Linked DNA regions of Homo sapiens: region 2 is linked to region 1. Evidence: promoter capture Hi-C in 16 types of primary human blood cells and fetal thymus (Javierre and others, 2016). All regions are on one chromosome and are shown on one strand. The core of a region is centred on a gene start or on the middle of the fragment in contact, and the rest is flanking DNA. Distances in the headings are between cores, read along the strand shown. Region 1 holds the start of TALDO1 (transaldolase 1). Region 2 has its middle 4.9 kb from the start of PKP3.

What was found. The method cuts DNA at HindIII sites, captures the fragments that hold promoters and counts their contacts. A CHiCAGO score of 5 or more calls a contact.
Region 2: a fragment that was not itself captured here is called in contact with the fragment with the promoter of TALDO1 in region 1 in 3 of 17 cell types (naive B cells, total B cells and total CD4 T cells); the score reaches 5.4 in naive B cells.

What each region holds. Positions count from the first base shown.
Region 1 is chr11:744,877-750,697 of GRCh38, reverse strand. It overlaps TALDO1 (transaldolase 1), which reads right to left and starts at 3,234. Exons shown (of 8, transcript NM_006755.2): 1 at 3,120-3,234. The coding sequence starts at 3,216. LOC105376509 (a long non-coding RNA gene) reads right to left here. Exons shown (of 3, transcript XR_930962.3): 3 at 3,736-3,949. RefSeq lists silencers at 2,634-2,723, 2,824-3,113, 3,174-3,773 and enhancers at 2,953-3,601, 3,904-3,963, 3,602-4,250. The HindIII fragment of the contact is 13,110 bases long and covers 1-5,821 here.
Region 2 is chr11:386,175-392,385 of GRCh38, reverse strand. No RefSeq gene overlaps it. Among named protein-coding and RNA genes, the nearest start is that of PKP3, 4.9 kb to the left of the region's middle. The HindIII fragment of the contact is 255 bases long and covers 4,255-4,509 here.

The DNA.
Region 1 (5,821 bases), core at 1,985-4,484:
GCCCGCCACCACGCCCAGATAATTTTTTTGTATTTTTAGTAGAGATGGGGTTTCACCGTGTTAGCCAGGATGGTCTGGATCTCCTGACCTCATGATCGGCCTGCCTCGGCCTCCCAAAGTGCTCGGATTACAGGCTTGAGCCACCACACCCGGCCGAAGTTCACAAGTTCAGTAACTTTATTTGGCAAATAAATATCTTTTTTTTTTTTTGAGACAGGGTCTCACTTTGTCTCCTAAGCTGGAGTGCAGTGGCGCAGTCACAGCTCACTGCTGCCTCAACCTCCTGGGCTTAAGTGATCCTCCCAACTCAGCCTCCTGAGTAGCTAGGACTACGGTGTGCACCAATACGCCTGGCTATTTTTTTTTCTTCCTTTTTGTAGAGATGGGGTTTTACCATGTTGCGCAGGCTGGAATAAGTACTTTCAAAGGGTCCTTTAATGACAAAACTATAGAGGTAGAGAACAGGTTAGAGGTTGCCAAGGAACAGGGAATGAGGGGTCTCTGAGGGACACGGGGATCTCAGTGACAATGGGACAGCTATGTCCTGTCACAGTGGTCCAGGAATTTACACACTTTATGAAACTGTCACATAGCCTCCTTGCCCCAGTGCAGGGGGAAACTGGGGAGCCCTGAGCCAGGCCTGCAGTCTATAACAGCATCAGCACCACAGCAGTGCCCACTTCCCGGTGTGGATGCCATGCCATGGTCACATGAGATGTCACCATGGGGGACAGTGGTTGAAGGGTTCACAGGACTGTATGGGCTGATTTTGCAACTTCTGTGCATCTATACCCATTTCAACATGACAAGTTAAGAAAAAGCCTGTTGTGCATCTATACTCATTTCAACATGACATCTGGCACAGTGCTAACACAGGTCTGCCAGAATGCACTGAATGAGGCACTGAAAACAGCCCATTTCGTCCTGTAAAATCACCCCTGGATAAAGTCAGCTTTTAGCAAATGGCTTTTACAAAATTAAAACAAAACCAAGGCCCATTGGGGCAAAAATGGGTTTCAGGGTCCAGGGATCCTTAAACTGAATGCAAAATGGGGAGGATCACATTGTGGGAAGAGCATTCACAGCTTTGATTCTATTTCCAGAGGCCTGTGCCTCCCTCCCACAAGGAGTTAAGAACCTTCACTTCACAAACTACAGATCACAAACCCAACAGACTATTTTACAACTATATAACATTTATGAACATATACTATCAATGAATGTATTTTTTTGTTAATATTCATTAAAAAAAAATGTCACAACTTGGGTTTAGAAGATTTTTTTTTTTTTTTTTTTGAGACGGAGTTTTGCTCTGTCGCCCAGGCTGGAGTGCAGTGGTGTGATCTTGGCTCACTGCAACCTCCGCCTTCTGGGTTCAGCAATTCTCCTGCCTCAGCCTCCCAAGTAGCTGGGATTACAAGCATGCAACACCGCACCCAGCTAATTTTTGTATTTTTAGTAGAGACGGGGTTTCACCATGTTGGTCAGGCTGGTCTCGAACTCCTGACCTCGTGATCCACCTGCCTCAACCTCCCAAAGTGCTGGGATTACAGGCGTGAGCCACCTCGCTGGGCCAGAAGTTTTCTTAAAAAACAATACAAAACAAAACCAGAAACCCAGGACTCCCCAGCCCTCCTGTGGGTGTGGGTTTAGGAAAATCCATCTTTATTGGCCCTGCACTGCCAAGTGTAATGGACCTGACACTCCGCACCAGCTCTGCCCTAACTGGTGAGGGCCAGTAAGGAACAATACAGATGAGCGCTCTGTCCACCAGGCAAACTGCAAATTATTCTCAGTGCTAAGAAGGGAAAAAACTGAGCAGCAGAAAAATGTGTAGCCCCTTTTCTGGAGCTTTCTTTCTTATGAAGAGAGGTCTGGACTACAACGGGGGGGCTGTGTGTGTGAGGGATTCACAGCTCTAGCTTTGGATCTCCCAAAGAGGGGTCCGGAGCAGACTGTGGCACCCCAAGCCAGTCACTGAATCCCCATATTTTATGGTTAAGCAGCCAAACATGCCAATTCACTCTCTAGGCTCTGCTAGATAAACAATGCCCTTACTCAGTTACCAAAGAGGAATTAAAGCCTGTTTCTCAAGTCACCATGAGAAAGCAGAAAAGAGAGGAAGTCACTTCCGTATTAGGTGCTCGCAGCATTCATCCATGAAGCGTTTCATGATTTTCTTAAAAAATATTACTTGTTCTCAACAAAACATAGACACAAGGCTCGTCTACTCTGCACTGCAGAGGACAGAAGAGCTAAGTATTAATAAATAATCCTTCTTTGTATTTTCCAAGTTCTCTCCAATGTAAACAACTCAAGCCCAGGAAAATCCAGTATTTAACAGTGTACCAACCCTGTGCTTTCATGGGCACCGGCTTTTACCCACCCGGTGCGTCTGGCGGTGGCTGTCCAGCAGGCCGGGCACCTGCCGCCCACGGAGTTGTCCCACTGGGCACCGCAGGGCTCAAGGGCGATGGCAGCACTGGCAGCTTCTGGTCAGAGCTAGCTGATGTCCCCGCTCTGCAGACATCAGCCCAACAAAATTGCATCTCGCTGACCACAAACTGGCCACGTGGAAGTCAGCTCGAAGCTCTACCCTGAATCTCTCCTGAACTCAAAGGCTCTGAAAGCTGCCTCGACCCATGAAGGTGCACAGAGGGGCTCCCGCGGGCTGCCCACAGCCCGTCCCGGGTGCGGGGTCTGAGGGCGCAGCCGACCCCACCCTGGGCGGAGGGCGAGGCTGGGGCTCCGGCTTCGTGCCCCACGGCTCGCAAGGACCCGTCAGTACCGCCCGCACCGCTGACCCCAGCACCGAGCCCCTCACGGCTGACCCCAGCTCCTCACGGCTGCCCCCGGCCCTGCTCCCTCACGGCCGACCCGGGCCCCGTTCCCCTCACGGTCGCCGCTGGCCCTGCGCCTCTCACGGCCGACCCGGGCCCCGCTCCCCTCACGGCTGTCCCTGGCCCCAACATCCGGCACCTGCGCTCATTCCTCCCGGAACGAGCCGCCCGGGGCACCGCCACCCGGTCCGCGTCCCGGAACGGGAGACCCGGGGAAATCGGGGCGCCGGGGCCTCTGGAGGGCGCTTGCGCCGCGCCCGGGCTCCGCGCCGTCCTCACCGTGGAAGTCGCCCGTGTCGGCCACCACGGTGGTGAACTGCTTGAGCTGGTCCAGCGCGGACTCCATCCTCTGACGCTTCACGGGTGAGCTCGACATAGCAAGACCGAGGGGTCTGCGGCGGCGGCGGCGGCGACGGGACGGGCGCGCGGACGGCCCACAATGCCCCGCGGGCGGCTGCCAATCGGAAAGCGGCGCGGGAGGGCGAGGCCCGCTGGTCCCTGCGCGCCTGGACGAAGCCCCGCCCCCGGGGACGAAGCCCGAGCGCCACTGCCGGCCGCGCACCGCAGCTGCGGATCCTACAGGCTGGGTCTCCCCAGGTCCTCAGCAGCCGCCGCGGACGGGCCCGGGAAAACACCTGCACGACACGGGGCGGCTGGGCCTCGCCTCCTTCCTGCCCCGCGGGACGCACCGGGAGGGCTGGAGGAGATGGACCTGGCCCGGGTGCCGACTCTGCGGGGCTGAACCCGCCAGGGCCGAACCCGGCGATGCAGGATCCATGGTGGGGCCAGGACTGGGGTCGGGGGCCGCTGCAGGAAGCAGGGGAGGGAGCGGCGGGGGACGCCCTGCGGGTGCAGGAGGCAGAGCAGGGGGCGGCTGCAGAGCCCGGGCGCCGGACGCGGCGGGGAACCTGCTTCTGGGAATCTGTTCCCCTGAGTCCTAAGCCCAGAGGTGTCCGGGGGACCGAACGGCGAGGCAGGCGTAGGAGGCCCAGCTGCCCTGCTTCTTACCATCGCTGACTTGCAGAGTTCCTTGTATATTCTGATCAAGTCTCTGTCGCTTGTGTCTGCGTTGCAGACACTGTAACCGCCCCATGGGTTCGCCTTGCCAGCTGCCGGGACAGAGTCTATTGTCAAGACAGGGGAATTGCAATAGAGAAAGCATAATTCACACAGAGCCGATTGTTCGGGAGACCAGAGTTTTATTCCTCAAATCAGTCTCCCCAAAACTCGGGGATCCCAGTATTTAAGAATAATTTGGTGGGTAGGGGGCCAGTGAGTCAGAAGTGCTGACTGGTCAGCTAGGGATGAAATCACAGGGAGTCGAAGCTGTCCGCTTATGCTGAGTCAGTCCCTGGGTAGAGGCCACACAACTGGTTGGCAGGTCCAGGTGGGGCCATCCGGTTGTCAGAAATGCAAAAACCTGAAAAGACTTTTTTTTTTTTTTGAGACGGAATCTCGCCCTTGTTGCCCAGGCTGGAGTGCAGTGGCGCGATCTTGGCTAACTACAACCTCCGCCTCCCGGGTTCGAGCGATTTTCCTGCCTCAGCCTCCCGAGTAGCTGGAATTACAGGCGCTCACCACCACGCCCGGCTAATTTTTGTATTTTTAGTACAGACGGGGTTTCATCATGTTGGCCAGCATGGTCTCGATCTCCTGACCTCGTGATCCGCCCACCTCAGTCTCCCAAAGTGCTGGGATTCCAGGCGTGAGCCACCGCGCCCGGCGGAAAAGACTTCTTAAAAGGCAAATCCTAGGCTGACGCGGTGGCTCAGGCCTGGAATCCCAGCACATTGAAAGGCCAAAGCAGGCGATCACTTGAGGTCAGGAGTTGGAGACCAGCGTGGCCAACATGCAAAACCCCGTCTCTACTAAAAATACAAAATTAGCCAGGCGTGGTGGCACATGGCTGTAATCCCAGCTACTTGGGAGGCTGAGGCAGGAGAATGGCTTGAACCTGGGAGGTGGAGGTTGCAGTGAGCCGAGATTGTCCCTCTGTACACTAACCTGGGCTACAGAACGAGACTCCATTTAAAAAAAAAAAAAAGGCCAACCCTAGGTTCACAGTAGTGTTGATATCTTGGGGAAGTTGCAAATCTTATCTTATGACCTCCAGAATAATGGCTGATAATATTTAGACTTCCAGCCCCTCTCATTCTAACTTGGTGGCTGGTGGCCTTTCATTCATTTTACAAGAACAGTCTAGTTTTGGGGAAGGGCTATTATTTAAACTATAAATTAAATTCCTTCCCAAGACTTGTTTGGCCTATGGCCAGTAATGGACAAGGACCGTTTGAAGGTTAGAAACAAGATGGAATTGGTTAAGTCTGTTATCTTTCACTGTCATAATTTCCTTAGTTATAATTTTGCAAAGGTGGTTTCAATACTTCCTCTCAGCATGTGTTCCCTTTTCATTTTAATAGTGTCTTTAATGAACGTTAGCTTTTTATTTTGATTAAGTTCAATTTATCAAGTTTTAATTTTATATTTACTCCTCTTTTTTGGTATCTTCTCTAAGGAGTCTTTGCTTGCTCCAAAGTGACAAATTTTTTTTTTTTTCTGGTGAGATGGAGATTTACTCTTGTTGCCCAGGCTGGAGTGCAATGGCGCGATCTCAGCTCACCGCATCCTCCGCCTCCCAGGTTCAAGCGATTCTCCTGCCTCAGCCTCCCGAGTAGCTGGGATTACAGGCATGGGCCACCATGCCCGGCTACTTTTGTATTTTTAGTAGAGACGGGGTTTCACCGTGTTGCCCAGGCTGATCTCAAACTCCTGACCTCGTGTTCCACCTGCCTCGGCCTCCCAAAGTGCTGGGATTACAGGTGTTAAGCAACTGCGCCCGGCCAACGCCCAGCTAACTTTTGTATTTTTAGTAGAGACAGAGTTTCACCGTGTTAGCCAGGATGGTCTCAATCTCCTGACCTCGTGATCCGCCCACCCTAGTCTCCCAAAGTGCTGGGATTATAGGCGTGAGTCACCACGCC
Region 2 (6,211 bases), core at 3,133-5,632, 360 kb after region 1:
GGGCCAGGCTGGGCGGCATGAGGGGGAAGCCAGCCTGGAGGGCCTCTGCAGCCCAGTCAGGCCGAAGGGCTCACAAGAGGACTCAGTGAAGGGGCTTCCGTGCGGCTGGAGCTATGATGGGAACGCCGGTACCCCGCGGCCTGCAGGGCCCCCAGGGCCGACTCTGCCCACCTTCCCTCCTCCCCTTGGCAGAGAGGGCTGTGGGTGCCCCCCCCCAGAGCTGCGGCGCCTCCCTGAGGATGCGTGGTGCCCGCCAGGCACAGTTTTGGCAAAGCCAGGAATCTGGGGTGCACCTTCCCTCACTGCGGCCGGGCCAGACGGATGGCGATGCCTGCTAGGCCACCGCTGCAGCTTCCAGCTCCAGGCTCGGCGGAGTCTCATCTGATCCCTGTGACCAGCCCTGAGGGTCGCACTCTCCCTGGAGCCAGCTCCTGACACAGGAGCCCTGGAGGGGGGCTTGACGGTAGGCTTCCTGGAGGAAGCGGTTGTCTGTGGGGCCCGGAATCTGCACGGAGCCTCGGGCCGCTTGGGTGCACAATCAGGTTGAGAGCCTGGAACCTGAGGGCCTCGAAGGGTGAGTGAGCGCTGCTCTTAGATGGGTCCTGGGTGGGGTGTGGCCTGTCAGTCACCTCCCAAGAGGCGGTGGGAGAGGGCGCAGGAGGGCTTCGGGGCATGGTGGGCTCAGCGTGGGGGGCACGGGAGGCGCTCACAGAGAAGGTCGGCTGGGCCCAGGTCGTGGGCAGAGCTGCCAGGTGCGTGCCCGGAGTTGTGGGAGGGCACAGAAGACAAACCTCCAGGGCAGAGCCTGCGTGGGTGGAGGGGGTTGGGGTGGTCGTCTTAAGGAGCAGAAGGGGGAGGATCTGGGGAGAAAGGTGTGAGGACGTTGGAAGCAAAATATAGTCAAAGCCGAATTCAGGAGTGAGCCGGTGCACAGAGAGGCTTGGGAGGCTGCCTCAGGTCCCACCGCCTGCAGGGGCGGGGTTCGGAGTGCATTAGGGGAGCCCCTTGGTGGTTGATGGACCCGGCGTGGGGGCACAGCTCACCCAGAGGCAAGCGTCCTGGCGCTTCCTGTTGGCGCCCACGCTTGCAAACCTTCTGACTTGGGCTCCAGCCAAGTCCAGCCCCTCCACGGAGCCTGCCCGGCTGCCCATGGGCACCACCCCTCACCTTGTGGAGTGTGGCCCCTGCCCCGCGCCTGTGGCTGGGGCAGCTCTGAGGTCTCTGGCCTTGGTCCTTGGCATGGAAAGTAGCTGAGGGGTATGGCCCCTGTAGGCTCTTGGGGGGGACACCTTTCATCTGCACACACCCCGTCCACTGCCGGCCTGTTGGTCAGTCTGTCCATCTGTCCGTCCACTACTTGTTCGTTCATCAGACGAGTCCCGGGCTCTTGCTATGCCCCCGGCGCTCCTCTGGGGAAGGGGGCGTCTGTCTGAGGCAGGCGGGGCATCTCCCGGGGGTTCTCCTGGGGTCTGGCCTCAGGACCCCGGCGCTCCTCTGGGGAAGGGGGCGTCTGTCTGAGGCAGGCGGGGCATCTCCCGGGGGTTCTCCTGGGGTCTGGCCTCAGGACCCCGGCGCTCCTCTGGGGAAGGGGGCGTCTGTCTGAGGCAGGCGGGGCATCTCCCGGGGGTTCTCCTGGGGTCTGGCCTCAGGACCCCGGCGCTCCTCTGGGGAAGGGGGCGTCTGTCTGAGGCAGGCGGGGCATCTCCCGGGGGTTCTCCTGGGGTCTGGCCTCAGGACCCCGGCGCTCCTCTGGGGAAGGGGGCGTCTGTCTGAGGCAGGCGGGGCATCTCCCGGGGGTTCTCCTGGGGTCTGGCCTCAGGACCCCGGCGCTCCTCTGGGGAAGGGGGCGTCTGTCTGAGGCAGGCGGGGCATCTCCCGGGGGTTCTCCTGGGGTCTGGCCTCAGGACGGTGTGTGGACCCATTCAGTTAGCCCCAAGTGTTCCTCACCAAATTGCAGCTGCTAACAGGTGGCGGCCGCTCCTGTTGCTTTCCTGTTATAAACAGGTGGCGCTGTGGGGCCAGGTCCTCCTCAAACAAGGCGGAGGAGGGAAGTCCTGGGAATCGGGGGCCTGGCCTAAGAAGGTGCCTTCTGAAAGGAAAAAAGCTAACCCCTCCATGGAGAGGTCCCTGTATTCACAAGACTGTGTTGATTCCTGACATGGTGGAGGAAGGAGGCCTGAGATGCCACTCACAGTTGTGCCAAGAGATGGGGAGGGGGGCCCAGATTGGAGAGGAGAACTCTGGAGTCCAGGACGAGGTCCATCCTCCTTCCCTTGACCCCTACAATCCCTGGGGTTCCTGGATGGCAATGGTGGTCTGGACGACTGTAGCTGGGGAGAGGAGGCTGGGGACCCATCAGTCCTGCTGTACCATTTGGGAGACTGGCCCGAGGTCCGGCAACCCACGTCTCCAGGGATGGTCTGTCCTCCAGCGGTCCCCTGTGGGCGGAGGATGACCCAGGTGCCCAGGCAAGAGACTGAAGGCACAAACTGTTTCAGTATAATAAAGAAAATAGAATAAGAATAGTCATAATACAAATTAGATATAGAGATGCTCATGGACAATTATCAATCATTATTATAAACATTATTAGTCATTAGCTTTTAATATTACTCTTTGTTCCATTACTATATAACCTAGGAATAAGCGGTGGGTATAGGGTCAGGTGCTGAAGGGACGTTGTGAGAAGTGACCTAGAAGGCAAGAGGTGAGCCCTCTGTCACGCCAACATAAGGGCCGCTTGAGGGCTCCTTGGTCAAGCGGTAACGCGAGTGCCTGGGAAGGCACCCGTTCCTTAGCCGACCGCGAAAGGGAGTCTCCTTTCCTTGGAGAGGTCGGGGAACACTCTGCTCCACCAGCTTCTTGTGGGAGGCTGGATATTCTCCAGGCCTGGCCCGCAGTCATCCGGAGGCCTAACCCCCTCCCTGTGGTGCTTGAATGATCACACTCCTTGTCCACTTTCATGCTCCTCCCGTACTCCTGGTTCCTCTTTGAAGTTCGTAGTAGATAGCGGTAGAAGAAATAGTGAAAGTCTTAAAGTCTTTGATCGTTCTTATAACTGCATAGAAGACAACACTGATGTATGCTGCCTTTCCTCTCTACTTCGGCTACCTAAGAGGGAAGGGTCACCGTAAGGTGACTTGCTTCACCTTATCACTTAGAAGATTCACCCTCCTTATCCTGCCCCCTTGTCTTGTATGCAATAAATATCAGCGCGCCCAGCCGTTCAGGGCACTACTGGTCTCCGCGTCTTGATGGTAGTGGTCCCCCAGGCCCAGCTGCTTTCTCTTTATCTCTTTGTCTTGTGCCTTTATTTATTACAATCTCTGGTCTCCGCACATGGGGAGAACACCCACTAAGCCCCGTAGGGCTGGACCCTACAGTCCCCAAGGCAAACTGGACAGGGTCAAGGTGGCCTCCCTGCACTGTCTGGAAAGCCCCTCCTGAAGGACCCTCCTCCCTGCACTGTCTGGAAAGCCCCTCCTGAAGGACCCTCCTCCCAGGACTGTCTGGAAAGCCTCCTGAAGGACCCTCCTCCCTGCACTGTGTGGAAACCCTCCTGAAGGACCCTCCTCCCTGCACTGTGTGGAAACCCTCCTGAAGGACCCTCCTCCCTGCACTGTGTGGAAACCCTCATGAAGGACCCTCCTCCCTGCACTGTCTGGAAACCCTCCTGTGGGGCCCTAGCCCAACACATTTGCAGCAGTCACAGGTGTATCTAGGGATCCTGGGGTCCATGAGCCCACAGGGCAGCTGTTAAGAGCCTTTGCCTTCTTCCTATATCTCCTCTCTCTTTTCTGGACTTCCTCCCGGTTCCCACTGGAAAAAACTGAGGTGGCCCCTCCCAGGATGCCCCCAAAGTACCATCTGGTCCCACAGCCCATTCCCGCATCCTCCTTCTGACATCAGGGGCCGCCTGTGCAATGAACTCATCTCCTCATCCCCTAGGACCAGCCGTTCATTGACTGAGTCAGGAGACAGAGAGGCACACTTCACCAAGGCCCCTGCCATCCCCCAGGAAGGCAGTGGGGCCAATCCCTGCTCTACCATGGACAGCCTGGTGCAATCAAGAGGCCCAGCCCCTTTCTCTCATAAGCCCTCCAGCCAAGTGCAATGAGAAGCCCAGTCCCATTCCCTCACAAGCCCTCCAGTATCACATCTGAAAGTGTTTCATCCTCCATTCTCCCATTTTATCACTGGGGTCCCATTTAGGGTCCTCCAATGGTACTGCTATTCATCCAATTGGATAAAGCTTCTCTTCTTCCCTGGCCCTATATAAGATATACAGCTCATCCCCCAAATTCTCTGCCGCTTGCGGGGTGGCCTGCTTTTCAGCAGTCAGGGTTTGATTCAGAAGTAACATGATATCCTTCCAGGAGAGCTCAAATACTTGGGTTAAGTTCTGGAAAGCCTCCATGTATCTGTCAGGGCCATCTGAAAACTTGCCAAGATCCCCCTTAATTTGACTCAGAATGGCCTAAAATGAGGATTTCTAGGCTGGGGAAAGCTTGAGAGAGAACCTGAGTAGGGAGGAGTGAAGGGTTTGATTCCTCCACTGGAGGTGCCTCTGGGGTTTGCTTCTCTATTTCCCTGGGATTGCCTCTTGCAGCCTCTCCTGAGATGGCCACCAGGAGGGCTGGATCAATCCTACAGTAGAGGCAAAGGTCCAAGTTACCCTGCAAGGCAAAGAAAGCCTGCACACACGAGGCCTGGGATCACTGGCCCTCACATTTACAGAAAAGCTTCCTCCCAAGACCATGCTTCCCTTCTGTGTCTTACACTTACAGAAAAGCTTCCTTCCTGAGACCATGCTTCTCTTCTGGGTCTCACGTTTACAGAAAAGCTTCCTTCCTGAGACCATGCTTCTTTTCTGGGTCTCAAGGTGCTTGGCACCAAGTTGGCGGCCAAGGAAATAACAAGAACATTTTTGCCACAAATTTACATACAGATACCAAGGCACACTTTACTTCGTCTGTGCTATTCTTAACCTTCCATTTTATAGTTTTGATGACTCAGTCAAATGCTCATTCTACCCAGTAATATTTCTGGTTTGCAACAACATCCTTAACATTTAACATTGTACATAAAGAAGAGATAGGAACCATGACAGCCACAAAAGAAAGACAGAAAAGAATGATAGGAAAGAGTGGAGGTCTTTGTGCCAACACCCTCATGGGAGGCTGGGGACTGGAGTCAGTCCAGGGGCCTTTGGATAACTCCAAGGGGTAACCTCAGCCAAATACCCCCAGTTGCTCTAGGACCTCCTTCTGGTCCCACGTGACAGCTAGACCTCCATGAAGGAAAACTGGGTTGGAACAAAGCCAACATTCCCAATACCTGAGGGTGATGGGGGCTTGACAGTGTCCTCCCCAGCAAGCCTGGCCTCCATGTGTTGAGTCTGGTGCTTGGAGACTAGTCGTCACTTTTAACTAATTGACAGAGGCCTGGTATTTTTCTTTCATTTTAGCTGTTGAGTTTAAGGACCACGAAGAAAGGACAGAAAGAGAAGATCCACTTTTACTTACCCTTGTGCAGATCCCAGACGAGCCCCCAAACATGTTGTGGGATATTTGGGGTGTTGCTTTTCTGGCCAGAAACCTCTGTGGCCAGGAGCACCTTTGCCTGAGTTCTTGTCCTGTGTCCAGGAAGAATGAGGTACACAGACAAGTGGAGGGTGAGCAAGACGAAGAGGAGCTTTATTAAGTGTCAGAACGGCTCAGAGGCTCTCAGCAGAGAGGAGGCTGGGAGTGAGTGGCTCCTCTCTGCAGGAAGGTCGTCCCAACGAGTGTTCAGCTCTCAGCAGAGAGGGCAGCTCCTCTCTGCAGTTGGTCGACCCAATGCCTGCAGCTATCAGCAGAGAGGGTAACTCCTCTCTGCAGTTGGTTGACCCAAGGCCTGCAATGCTCAGCAAAGAGGAGGCCCTAGTGAGGGTAGCTCCTTTCTGCAGCTGGTCATCCCGTCGTCTCTCTGTCCTCTTCTCCACTCTGGCTGAACCCAGGGCTTTTATGGGCCTCAGAGGGGAGGAAATTCATGCCAACTGGTGCATGGGCAGCCATGGGTGGGCCCGGAAAAGGCACCACAAGTCCCCACTGTGGTCCTCAGGACTGTCAGCCTGGCCCCCAGCCTTCAGGCCCACCCTGGCTTGAAGGTGGAGCCTCACCAGGGACCTGCCCATTCCCTCCCAGGAGCCTGTCTGCCTCCCACTGCCGCC